Linked DNA regions of Homo sapiens: all the other regions are linked to region 3. Evidence: promoter capture Hi-C in 16 types of primary human blood cells and fetal thymus (Javierre and others, 2016). All regions are on one chromosome and are shown on one strand. Each heading gives the region's core, a stretch centred on a gene start or on the middle of the fragment in contact. The rest is flanking DNA. Distances are from core to core; before and after follow the strand shown. Region 1 has its middle 23 kb from the start of LINC00709. Region 2 overlaps LOC101928272 (a long non-coding RNA gene). Region 3 holds the start of TAF3 (TATA-box binding protein associated factor 3).

Region 1 (4,519 bases), core at 1,439-3,938, 1.5 Mb after region 3:
CCATTTCAACTTTATTGAAAGGTTTTACGATTATACTCTTGCCCTAAATTTGAAATCAAAATTTTCAATATGTGCAAGAGTACAGAATGAAAGAGCATTTATTGAGATAAATCCAAATGGAAGAAAAAATACATTAATTCAAGTATGCAAATAAACAGGAACATTTTGGGTTTCGGTGATCTAACTAATGTTCTCAATAATTCATTTGAGTATGTAAAGAAGTTTTAAAGGAAAGAAAGGACAAAGTATGGGTATAATTTTCATGAATTCATTTTCATCATTCAAAAGTGATTCTTTCTCTTCTACTCTCCTTGAACCATTATCTAAAGGCTGTCTGCAACCTAAACCTCTAAAAACACCAGTAATTTTAGTGTCAGTATCTACATGTTAAAACTTGTTTTGGTCTAATAATTTGAGATATATTATGGTTCTATTATTTGTAATTTTGGTAGCTTTTTTGTTCTATTAATCTACATATGAAAACATGTTATATGTTTAAGATTTTTATTTTGATATAGATCATTTATTTTATTCAAAACATAATTTAAAATAAAAATACTTTCATATTGCCTTGATCTAACATTCAAGAAGATACATTTGTTATGTTGAATAATAACCAGAAAGGACAAAAGTTTGAAAACAGAAAATGGTGGGAAATAAATCTTACCAAATCAAAAAAGCCCCAGTTTAATTTTATAAAGAATGAAGACATAAGGCAAAGGCAAATAACCACTCTAATTTAAAATTATATTTCAATTAGCACTTTGTAAAGTATCTTAACTTGCTTTGTCTGACTTGGAAATGAGACAAAAGTTTCTGAAAGAGCAGGCTCTGAAAATATTTATGAATAAGAAAATAAAAGAAAAAAGAACAATTGAAAGCCAATAGGTGCTAAAAAATAAAAAAAGAGAAACATTATAAAACACCTTTTCAAAGGTCTTCTAATGTACAATATTTAAATACAAACAGTAACTAGTGTTACACCAGCTGCTCTCAGGTTTGCAAAATATATCAAAGTACAGCATATTGGAATGAGTCCTGAGTTTCCATTTACTTTATCTATCCAGACACATCAATTCTTTTTACTCCAGCCTGATAAAGTGGAACTGCCGCAGACAAATGAGCTAGTGGAGCTGACATAATGTGTTTGTCACAAAGAAGCGCTGGATAAAAAAGCATGACTTTGATCCTCAATGAGGTTACTATTTTACAGTACCCTGAATTTAACTCTAACCTGATGCCTTGAGTCACCGTTCACTGTTTATTGGCCAAAATTGATTCTCATTTCATCTCTAACTGTTAAAGGACTGGCTCCTGCAATCCTTAGATGAGTAAAATCTCCTATCAACCAAAAATAATACTAATAATAATCATGGGAAATTAAAAGCAAAAACTTGATTGATGATCTCTGTGTGACATTATAAAAACTACCCCGAGTTGGGGACTAGAGGTAAGCAAGTAGGTTGACGATCACTTATCACAAACCCAAGGTGTAATGTTATTATTTTAAAGGAAATTTGATTTGTATTTAAGCAATAATACATACCAGATAATTTCTAGATAATTATTTATGTCTGAATTTAAATGTATCTATTGAGCAAATCAGATACATATATATTTATGTGTATGTGTCTATATGTAATTCTATTCTTTCTTTTTATAAAGACTCAAATATTTCTGAAAATAAAGCTTTTGTTTTGAGTTCTGAATAACATGAAACATTTGCCTATTATACCCCTGGGCTCCTTTATCCAAGCAAATTAATTCAATGGTTTTTATTTCATTCATCAAACAAATAAAAAATACCATAGGTAGAATCTGTCACTTGTAAACAGACATAGAAAAGAATAAAACAAGGGGTTCCTAGAGACCAATCCTCCAAGCAGATGAGTAAACATTGCCTTGAACAGTCATAATGGGGGAAAACGATTCTTTCTCTGATACCTGATACTGCAGCCTCACACATTTTTTTTCTTCTTCTATTATTATTATTATTTTTTTTAGTTTGTGGATCATTAGCCCAACAAATGAAGAAGTGAATTGTGATGAATGAAAATTAGTACTGTGAATCCAAATTACTGCATTAAACCCAGGCTGGCCATAAATTACATGTTAACACAATTCGATACAAGTAAGACAGAAAATACTGTCCCTGACAGTGATCTTTAACAATTAAAATATATTTCTTCAACTCAATATTTGGCTGCAATATACTAAAGAAGTTATGATATTCTCATATTGCAAAGTTATATTTAGATTCTACGCAGGGTTAATTATTCCTCACAAATAACGTGCTCACTCATGGTCTCTTAAGTAGATTTTTTGCGGTATATCTTTTGGATTGACTATTATTGATGCACAGCAGTGTTTACAAAATACATCTCCATCCCTTTTCATGATGATTTGAGTTACAGCCATATTTTAAGCCATCCATTAAGCTCTTTTTGTACCCTGCAAATTCATCAGTGGCCTACCTACTGGACACACCTGAGTAAGCAGTAGTAGAGCAGAGATGTAGAGGTGAATGAGATCTATTAGGTAAGCAGAGATCAGAAGGACCAGAGAAGCTATAGTACTAAAGAGAAGTCAGGTTTACTGTACAGAGGAGCCTTCACTGCTTCAAGCCAAGAAAATCTGGTAACATAGAAAATGTCCCTCTGTGCGTACTTTTACCCACAATCAATTGGTGAGATTTGGTCAGCTGATGATTTCCTAAAAGTTCCGTCTGTCCACGTCATCCATGCAGTAGCACAAGATTCATTTTGATCTAATGTCTGAAGCAAGTTCAGATAATAAGATGATGACAAGATCTGAAAGATCAGGCTGGGCGCGGCGGCTCACGCCTGTAATCCCAGCACTTTGGGAGGCCGAGGAGGGCGGATCACCTAAGGTCAGGAGTTCATGACTTTATTAGAGACAGGTGAAACCCTGTCTCTACTAAAAATACAAAAACTAGCCGGGCATGGTGGCAGGTGCCTGTAATCCCAGCTACTCAGGAGGCTGAGGCAGGATAATCGCTTGAGCCCAGGAGGCGGAGGTTGCAGTGAGCCGATATCGTGCCATTGCACTCCAGCCTGGGAGACAAGAGTGAAACTCTGTCTCAAAAACAAAAAAACAAACAAAAAAAATCTGAAAAATCACGTGAAAACTATGCCAAAGAGTTTTGGGAACTTAAAGAAATGCAGAAGTCGGTGTTTGTTGCTGTCCAAGTTCTTTGAGTGTATGTGAGCAAGAGATGCCACTATTTTCCACTGATATTACCTGTATCCAGACTGATGCTAAAGGCTGAGATAAACACAAGCATGCATCCACTGCCTCCATGCAAGTCCTACTCAGTACTAAAGATGGACGCTTGGTAAAAGCCAGATACAAAACATTGCTGCCTTCTGTTAGCCTGGAAGCACATTGACTAAAGATGTTCTGATTGCCCGTGGGGTAGAACAATGAAACAATGAAGCCAGTATGTGCAGAAGCATGTAGGAGGAAGACTTGGGGCCAATGAGGCAACAAACTGCATGCCCAACACATGCTCCAGGGCACTGTGCTAATGCCCAACTTTCCATCTGGTTGAGTGAGTTAGGTCCAGCAAATGAATTCCTTCCAGCTTCTCATGCAGTTCCATCTTTGTCCCCTATTGAGGAGCAAAAACATCCTGTTGGTAAAAGCCACTTTCAGTGGTTCAGTGGGTAAAGCTTCTCCAGGCTGGATTTGGGAGTCTGAAATTGTTGGGAAGACTGAAATGATTGTTCCTAGAAATTTAACCCAACTCTGTCATGCCGGCTATCAAGTAGAGATAATAAAACACCGTCTTAATGAAACTTCTGAGATGAATCTATATTATTTTAATTTTATAACATTTAAGATTGAGGTCAAGAGACAATATGCAATATTCCGCAAGTTACTCAGCTAAGAAGTGGAAGGGCATGTATTTGAACCTAGGTTCTCTTGTACCTACCTAGTTCATCGCTTCTGCCATATTTCCTAGCATTCAGCCAAGAGAAACTACCGGACATAATCTGTGAGGCCAAAAGAGTGTGAACAGCAGAGAGGGCTTGAAACAATGGAGAAATTCATTCATCTTTATGGTGACGCTATTGTTGAGATCAGCAGTAAGCCAAACAACAAATTTCACTTGTACAGAATGTGAAGAGGTTATTTGTTAATTTTACTCCTTCTCTCTAATGCGGAAATTATATATACACATAAAATTTAGAGACAGGGCCTCACTCTGTTGCTCAGGCTGGAGTGCAGAGGTGCATTCATAACTCATTGCAGCCTCGAACTCCTGGCCTCAAGTGATCCTCCCACCTTGGCCTCCTATAGTGCTGGGGAGATGTGAGCCACTGTGTGAGCCGAAATTACAGATGTGAGCCACCATGCCCAAAATCTTAACATTAATAGAAGAATCATCTCAAAGAAAGTGAGAAACTATGAGGGCATATCAAACTAAAAAACAAAATCTGTGTTCTTTTTAAATTTATATATTCATTGAAAAATATAATTAGGCTCAGTTGAAACT
Region 2 (4,309 bases), core at 1,271-3,770, 1.4 Mb after region 3:
ACATCAACATATAGCCCTACTCTGAGTTATGTGGTCCTAGAAGTCATGTGTCTTCTCATATATGTGTGTATGTGTGCTTGCCTAAACACACAAATTCAAAGTACTGTTCACTCTCATCATTACATTCTTAGCGAGTGTCAAGATTTAGAAAGAAATTATTGCTTATAGTGCTTCTAAAACATTGATATTTGTTTTCAATATCAAGATCAAATATCAATGTTTTAGAAGCATTAGAAGCAATCAATGTTTTAGAAGCATTAGAAGCAATGATTTCTTGAAATCTGAAATATCCTTTTGTGATCTAAGAAATTTAAAATTAAAAGTTACTTCTCAGGTATAAGGTCAACAGATAACGAGAAAAAATATTTAGGATCTCATTTTCCATTTTCCAAGATTTCAGATTAGGGTATTTCTTCAATCCTTTGAAGTCATAAACCTTTGACTAAATTTTCCCTAGAAAAATTGAAGCTGAAACTTAGGACTCTAAAAAATGAAAAGTTTTTAAATCATACATCAATATATACATTAAAAGGGAGATTGCTGATCCCCAAGGGGAGTGATTTTAGCTTGAATTATCTGTTTGATTTCATATATTAGACAGACTTTCATATATATGTCATATATATGAAATGTCATATGATAGTATTTCATGTGTATATGACAGTATTACAAATTCACCTTACTTTATGTAAACAAAGTTTAGTCCATACAACTTTAGTTTTCAAATAAATAGAAAATTAAAATATGCACCAAATACTTTGTCTCCATTTATATCTGGCTTTGTGATGAAAGTGAAGCAAGTTTTGAAAATTAGTATTTTTACTCAGTCAATTATCTAAGAGCACAAAGTAGATCTGCCTTGGTTGTTTCCAAGTGCTCCTGAATAAGGCCACACTTCTATGCAAGAATCTGCCAGTGTGATGGAAAGACAGAAGCAGTCCCTTCAGGTTCTTATTATTGTTGTTGTTGTTTCTTGAAACGGAGTTTTGCTCTTTCGCCCAGGCTGGAGTGAAGTGGTGCGATCTCAGCTGACTGCAACCTCTGCCCCCGGGTTCAAGTGATTCTCCTGCCTCAGCCTCCCGAGTAACTGAGACGGGGTTTTGCCATGTTGGCCAGGCTGGTCTTGAACTCCTGACCTCAGGCAACCCACCTGCCTCGGCCTCCCAAAATGCTAGGATTACAGGCGTGAGCTACAGTTGTCCAGCCTCCTTCTGGTTCTTAATCAGGAAACCCCAAATATACTTGACTGGTTTGTTGTCCCATAAGGTATGGACTTCTTGTGGGAAGTAAACAAAAAATAAATATTCAAAACCTGGCTTTATCTTGCCTAGTTTGTTTTTACAAATCCAAATATATCCATGTAAGGTATATGCAAAAATATCTCTTGATCTAGTGACAAAATCTGTGCATGCAAAATTAAAAGTGGCTTATATTAACAGAGAGAAAATTTTCCTTTTATATGCCTACTACTCATTGAATAATATATGTTTATTCAGCTAGTGTTTTGTGTTGTGAAGAATAAGAAAACTTAATTTGAAATTTGGTATTTAAAAACATTTTTTCCCGTGCTAGCTAAACTTAAACATACTATAATATGCTTCAAATTTTCATTCTAGTTTTGTTGTTGTTTCAAGTTTTGTTTTGCTATTCTGTGGTATTCTTAACCATTTCATCTTCCATCAGAGGGGTGTGAACATCATTTTCACAAGCAAATGAAAGATATATAAGAGGCCTAGTGCAAACTGTAACTTCCATAGATGTCAGCTAATTGTAAAAGTTAATTATTAAGTTTTGTTTACTAGAAAAGCATGACATGCTGCTTGCCAAAGTTTTTATATGTTAAAATAGTAATAAGGAGTTATAGATAAATGTGTTTCCTGAACTAAGGATAATTAAATTTATCAATTTTTTTTATTTCATATATTTACACAAATTTTCTCCCTCTTTATTTTACCTTAAAAATGTGATCATTTTACCCCACTCATGTTTCCCATCCATATAACTAAGCAAAGTTATTTGGCATTAAATCCTTCCTTCTCTGAACAGAAGTGATTCATTGTTCCAGATAATATCTAACACCTTCATAATTATCATTAATCTTTGAATTAATACAAATTTAGATATTTATATATTTTAACACCACACAAAATTCGTTGTAAAAACCTTTAGCTTCTTTAGTATACCTAAAATAATGTTTTCAAAGGTTTTTTCCTTACTGTAAGTTTAAAACCAATTCACTGTGGAAAACTAAACTGTCATCAGCTAATTGTCTCAACTACAAACATTTATTTGAAGTGTGTATACATGTCAGAATGTGTGTGTGTATAGCTTGTGAGAACAAGTGATTTAGACTATAAAATGCTGAAAAGAGTGAAGGCTATTCTTGCTATATGGTAGAAAGTGAATTCATAACAAGTATATTTTTGAGATGTTGGTCCTGTGCAAGCTTAACATCATTCAGCAGCGGAAAGGAATCTGGTGCCCTATTTGTACTTCCATCTCACCTCCTATTCACTTTCTTTGTAACCTTTTTTCTTCTTATGAACTTGGCATTCTATTGAACATCAGGTTCCCAAAGAGTAATAGCAAATAAGGAAGCTTTATGGGCTGCCTTAGCATCGGGTGCACCAGAAGACGACAGATCCCAAAGGAATGCGAGATGTGTGCTGGAGACTCACCCCAGCGTATTTACACTTTGATGGTCCTGAGAAACTTAGGACCCAAGGGTTGTGGCGCTAAATCTCATCAAAGGTACCATGCACATTTTAGAGACAAAAGCTGGCATTGCCATCCAGTGGCGACATCCGGTATTGCATGTTCAACCAAACCCCGTTTGTTTTGCTTGGACACCGTGTCCTACATAGAAAATAAAATACAATGACTTTGTTTATTTTCTCTTCTATCTTAACAATTCAATGTATGTAATAAGCAAGCAGAAGTAGTTGTTAAAGTATCTTTCATTTTAAGTTAGTTTTACTATTTCCCCTCTAGGTTTGGATGTAGCGTGTGTAGAATGAACAAATGTGTAGGCAAAATAAAAATTTACTAATATTTTTGAACGAAGATTTAAAGTACTTAAAATGGACTCCAAATGAGCAACTCTTTATAAGATCAGGGAATTTCTAGTGATTAAAAATCGCAATGGTTCGGCCCATTTATTTTAATAGCATTACTATTAACTCAAAGATGTATTGATATGGACTCACACCAAGGTTGTGATTATACCAACCTAAGCTCTCCAACTTAGAGTACCTGGTGCAGTTCACATGTGTGTGTTTAATAAACGCATGAACTAAGAAAGAAGAACATGGAGAGATTTTTCCTGTTGTCAGTTTGATGTTGAAGGGCACATTGTTTTTCTATTATGTTGCTGATTTCTGTATTTATTCCACATATATCAGAAACATTTCTCCCACCTTCTGGGTAAATTGCAATGGAGGTCTCACCCAGAACATTTAGGTTTGAATTGGTTAACAATTCAAGCAGCCCTACCTTTTCAGCACTTTTTATTTTTTAAAAAAAATAGCATTTTGTTTTTCCTTCAAACCTCACATCTTCCAAGCCCTTCAAAGAGCTGTACTGATGAATGCATGTTTCTAATAGACTTCAAGAGGGTTATCCTGGACGCCTGGTATAAGTTCAGGGGTCCCCTCCCCCTTTATTTACCTGTTATGTGTCATTAGCTCCTGCTTTTTTTTAATGTTACAAACTCTGTGTACTTTTTGTAGGCATTGGTTTTCAATGCTGCGTTGCCATTTGGTTTTCATTCATAGGAGAAGTTTAAAAGGAGAAATGAGATCTTACATGAAAGATTGTGCTCAGCACTTTTTATTTGGCAGGGGAAAATATGAGTGGAGTTATTTCACCTAAGACATAGAATTATTTTGTTACGTGAAAGACATTATTTATATTTTCTTATGTTAATACAAATATATAACGCATTCAAGGTAATCCACAAAGCTAAAATGAAAATCCAGTTATCTGAGATTTGTTTCCTTGGCATACGTACTAACCAGTCTATAGGGGGCCTTTGGCACATAAATGTTCATTTACTTTGAGCTTAGTGGCATCAGCCATTTTTAACAAACCATAAACTGCTAACAAGCTTCAACATAAAGAAGAAACATATAAAGACAATATGGATAAGATATGTAAATAGTAACACCCTGACTTACAATGACTTTTTTATTTGAAATAACTTTTATTAAGCAGAGTGAACTGAATGGATCATTTTCATGTATATTCACCCATTAAAATAATTTAAATATTTTCTTTAAAAAGAAAAAAATTGGTATTTGTTACCTTTCTG
Region 3 (4,068 bases), core at 134-2,633:
TAGCGGGACAGATTTGTGAAATCCAAGGCGCAAGAGAGTTTCAATGTTACAGAAGCGTTCAACATTATCAAATAGCTACAAAATAATCAAGTACGGCTAGGACTGAAAAATGTCTCATAGATTTAGCAACACAATGTTCCTGATAACTTGGGGACAGAGTGTCCAGGGAGTAAATGCAGGCACCTTGCCCTTTAGTACCTTGCTTCTCTGCAGATCGTCATTTAGCTGAAGAACCATAATTTCAGTTCTATTATTGAGTTTCCCAGACTTTGAAAAATGTGAATATCATGTTCAAAGTTCTGGAATAGTCCCTGTCGGAGGAATATAGAGCCACTCATAAACTCGCAATTTATTGGAGGAGCACATAAACTAAATACACTGTGATAAGTACAGAAGGGCATATTTAAGAAACCGCATAGTTCAGCCACTACAATCGGGCGACCTGCAGGCTGAATCTAGACTAACCGTGGGATCAGTTTGGCTTTTGAGATGTGTTCCCAATTCTGTATTTAAAAATCAAGATATTTATCCCTAAATCCGATTTCTGGCAATACTTGGATGGAGCTGGGAGAAGGCTCTGGGGTAGGCAACCGTTCCCAGGACACTCGGCCTGCGACACCGGTTTAAGGCTCGGTTTGGCCTCTGTAGGCAGCCGAGGTCCCCATCCCCCGATAGGTCACAGCCGCGATGCTCAAATCGCACACTATAGCCCACAGGCAGCTTACCTGTTTTTTTTAAAAAAAAAAAAAAAAAAAAAGTTTTATTGGAACCAGGGCTGGGATTAGAATGACATGAGTGAGTCAGGAGTTTATGGCATGGATTTGGATTTTTTTAAAAAAACTGTTAAAATATTATCGATCTTGATGACTGAGTTTTTTGAGGCCCCCATTAATTTGGCACAGAGTCCTCCTAGTTCCTGCCCTATTGCGAAGGGCTTTGAAGGGCATGCGGAACAGCTTGGACTTTATTTAATCTTTGCAGTGGCAAGCAGCTCAATACACAGATTTTTAGCTGAGGCAACACCAGCGCAGGTCTGCGTTTGGCGAGCTCCGTAAGTTCCCACGCCCCAAACTTCTCTCTAGCACATAACTCTCTAATATGACTAACGTTATTAGTGCTAACTCTCTAACCTGTCAATGTCGTATCCCAGATCCCTCGTTTGCCTCTAAAACACTGGCGTTTTCGTCACCGCTGTCCCCCAGGTGAGCGCCCCAGCACCTGCCGCCCTGGGCGCCTCCTCCACCTGCGCGCCCCACGCCCGCTTCCGGCCGGCTTCCAGGCCTCAGAGGCGATCCCGAGGAATCGTTCCGCTCCCAAGGGGCGGAGCTTTCTCATCGCCGCGCTCGGCATTCGGCTTATGCTGCCTCGCCCCGGCGGCCGTCCAGCGGGAGGCGGAGCGAGTCCAAAATGGCGGCTCTCAGGCTGGCGCGCTCCGTGCTGCTGGGGCTTTGAGGTGGTCGCCGGGGGTCCGGGGGACCCTTTCCCCGCCGCGGAAGCCCTAGAGGATGAATCGGGGACCCTGCTAAGGTCTGGCGGCGGGGCTGGAGAGCAGTGGCAGCAAGGGCTGCGGTGGCGTCCACGCAGCGGGATGTGCGAGAGTTACTCCAGGTCGTTGTTGAGGGTCTCGGTGGCGCAGATCTGCCAGGCGCTGGGCTGGGACTCGGTGCAGCTCAGCGCCTGCCACCTCCTCACGGACGTGCTGCAGCGCTATCTGCAGCAGCTGGGCCGGGGCTGCCATCGGTACTCTGAGCTCTGTGAGTACCGGGCTGGGTGCGGGAGGGCTGCCCCGGCAAGTCAAGGGTGACACCTTCGCTCTCCCTGTCCCTCCGCGTCCCCGGGGTGTGCATCCCGCACCCCGCCTCGAGATCTGCTGTTTCCTCGGCCTCCCACGTCCCTGGGCTTCCACTGCCGCTCCAAACTCTAGTCATCCTTCGGGTGCCTCTTCCTTATCCGCTAACTTCCCGCCACCAGCCCGGGAGTCGGGTCTTCGCTCCCAGCTCCACACCCTCCTACCGCTCCTCCGCTCTGAATTGTGTCTGGATCTCTCTCATTGTCTCCTGTTTGCTGCGGGTAGATCCACCCCCAGCGTGCCCTACACCCTCTTTTACCTCGGTCCTTTTTCTCCCTTGCCCGCAAACTACTACAACTAGTTGTCACAGGCGCTCCGTCTACCGGCCGTTTCTTACAAGACTGGCCATTCCTGGGCTCCTAACTACATAGACTCGTTGACAGCTCTGCTCCGTTAGGGACACTGCCTCGTCTTTCTGTATCTGTTCGTTTCGTGAACGACATCTCCATTTACTGTTTTTCCAAGGCTGACTTTGTCAGTTTCGCTGATTAGATGTACTTTCACTTACGTCTCGGTTACCAGTGAGATGTCAGTGGCTATCGAAGTAGGATAGAGGGACCGTGGGCAGTTGACAAGATTCTCCAGGTAATCTGGGCTACAGTACTTATGAGTTTTAAATGAATGTCTGGTAATATCTATAGCTAGTGGTATTTAATAATTTAATGGAAGGAATGGAATATTTTAATAGAAGCTCCACATTATCTTGTTGATGTGAAGCATTGTATGTGTGTTTGTTGAGGAGAGGAAACTACCACTCATTTTAGTTTCAAGTCATGATGTTTAAGGTGGTGAGCTGGAGAACTGAATGAAGTGTTTCATAGGATATTTTGTTTTGTTAAAGTGGTTCCTATACTGGAAAATTGAGACTCACAGACACACGCTGTATTTCTTAGGCCCCAAGTTTCGTTCCCGCTTCCACAGGGCTGCCAAAATAATCTGTCCATAGCACAGATCTGATCCTGTCATTATTCTTAAAAACATTTTAACTATACTTCGTTGGTTACAGGCTAAAAATCGAAACTCTTAGCAGTACACAGTTCCCTTTGTGAGCTAGCATTTTGCTTACCTTTTGCCAGCCTGCCATGCTAATCTGCGACCACGCTGAGCTACCTGCCTTTTCCAAAATGTTTTAAGCTGTCCATTCCTACATGCGTGCTGTTTCTTACCTAGAGTGTCCTTTGCCCGTGGCCCACCAATAGTATTACTTTTATTTTCAGATGCACTTATCACTTGCTCTAGGGAACTCATGTTATCTGCTTTCATAATTCTGTGCATATTTCTTTTATATTATTTGTCATCTTGTTTTGTAATCACCTGTGTATGTCTCTTTCCCCTCTCCAGGAGAAAAATTGATTATATTTGTATTCTGTAACCTGTAGGGCCATTATATAATAGGCACCTGAGAAATATTTGTTGAATAAATGAATGAACTGATAAACCACTACCCTAAAAGCCACTTATTGACTTTACATATTGAGTTCCAAAAATGTATATGTTTTGAATGCTTGATTTCACTGATACTTCTATTACTCTTCTTCTTTTGAGACAGGGTCTCACTCTGTCGCCGAGCGTGGAGTGCAGTGGTGCGATCTTAGCTCTCTATAGCCTCGAACTTCAGGGCTCAAGTGATCCTCCCGCCTCAGCCTTCCAAGTAGCTGGGACTACAGGGATACGCCACCATGCCTGGCTAATCTTTTTATTTTTTGTAGAGATGTGGTCTGGTTATATTGCTCAGGCTTGTGTCAAACTCCTGGGCTCAAGTGATCCTCCTGCCTCAGCATTTCAAAGTGCTGGGATTACAGGCATGAGCCACCATGCCCAGCTCACTGATACATCTGAATGTGGAACCACAAAGTAATATGCGTGCATTTTTATCTTGAAAGTACATCACCAGCTGACTACTCTTCTGGCTTTTGTTTCTTTTTCCTCTGGCCTCCGCTGCAGTGGTCCTTGAGTATACCGTTAGTGATAGGCTAGGCTAGGCTAGGCTAGGCATAGTCCAGATTATGTTTGCTACCATGTATCTTTAGATATTCAAAATGTCTCCTGAATACATAGTTACCTTTACTGCCATTTATACAAAACAGAAGGGAGCTGCCACTCTATGTGACTAGGTATTCCAAAGTCATCCAGGGGTCACTGCAGCTCTTCAGTGTAAACCTTGTTCCTAATTACCAAGTTTCCGTAGCCAGTTTCTTGGTTTCAGTGAGAATGAGATT

Evidence for each region. Contacts are between HindIII fragments. The CHiCAGO score rates a contact against its expected background, and 5 or more counts as called.
Region 1: a fragment that was not itself captured here is called in contact with the fragment with the promoter of TAF3 in region 3 in 2 of 17 cell types (fetal thymus and M1 macrophages); the score reaches 7.3 in fetal thymus.
Region 2: a fragment that was not itself captured here is called in contact with the fragment with the promoter of TAF3 in region 3 in 4 of 17 cell types (M0 macrophages, total CD8 T cells, endothelial precursors and 1 more); the score reaches 11.4 in M0 macrophages.

Annotation. Positions count from the first base shown.
Region 1 is chr10:9,296,695-9,301,213 of GRCh38, forward strand. No RefSeq gene overlaps it. Among named protein-coding and RNA genes, the nearest start is that of LINC00709, 23 kb to the left of the region's middle. The HindIII fragment of the contact is 2,003 bases long and covers 1,688-3,690 here.
Region 2 is chr10:9,206,596-9,210,904 of GRCh38, forward strand. The region is part of intron 4 of LOC101928272 (a long non-coding RNA gene); the gene reads right to left. Among named protein-coding and RNA genes, the nearest start is that of LINC00709, 67 kb to the right of the region's middle. The HindIII fragment of the contact is 152 bases long and covers 2,445-2,596 here.
Region 3 is chr10:7,817,122-7,821,189 of GRCh38, forward strand. It overlaps TAF3 (TATA-box binding protein associated factor 3), which reads left to right and starts at 1,384. Exons shown (of 7, transcript NM_031923.4): 1 at 1,384-1,754. The coding sequence starts at 1,589. It overlaps LOC105376392 (a long non-coding RNA gene), which reads right to left and starts at 1,242. Exons shown (of 3, transcript XR_001747356.1): 1 at 1,131-1,242. RefSeq lists enhancers at 1,060-1,578, 1,391-1,450, 1,579-2,096. The HindIII fragment of the contact is 11,971 bases long and covers 1-4,068 here.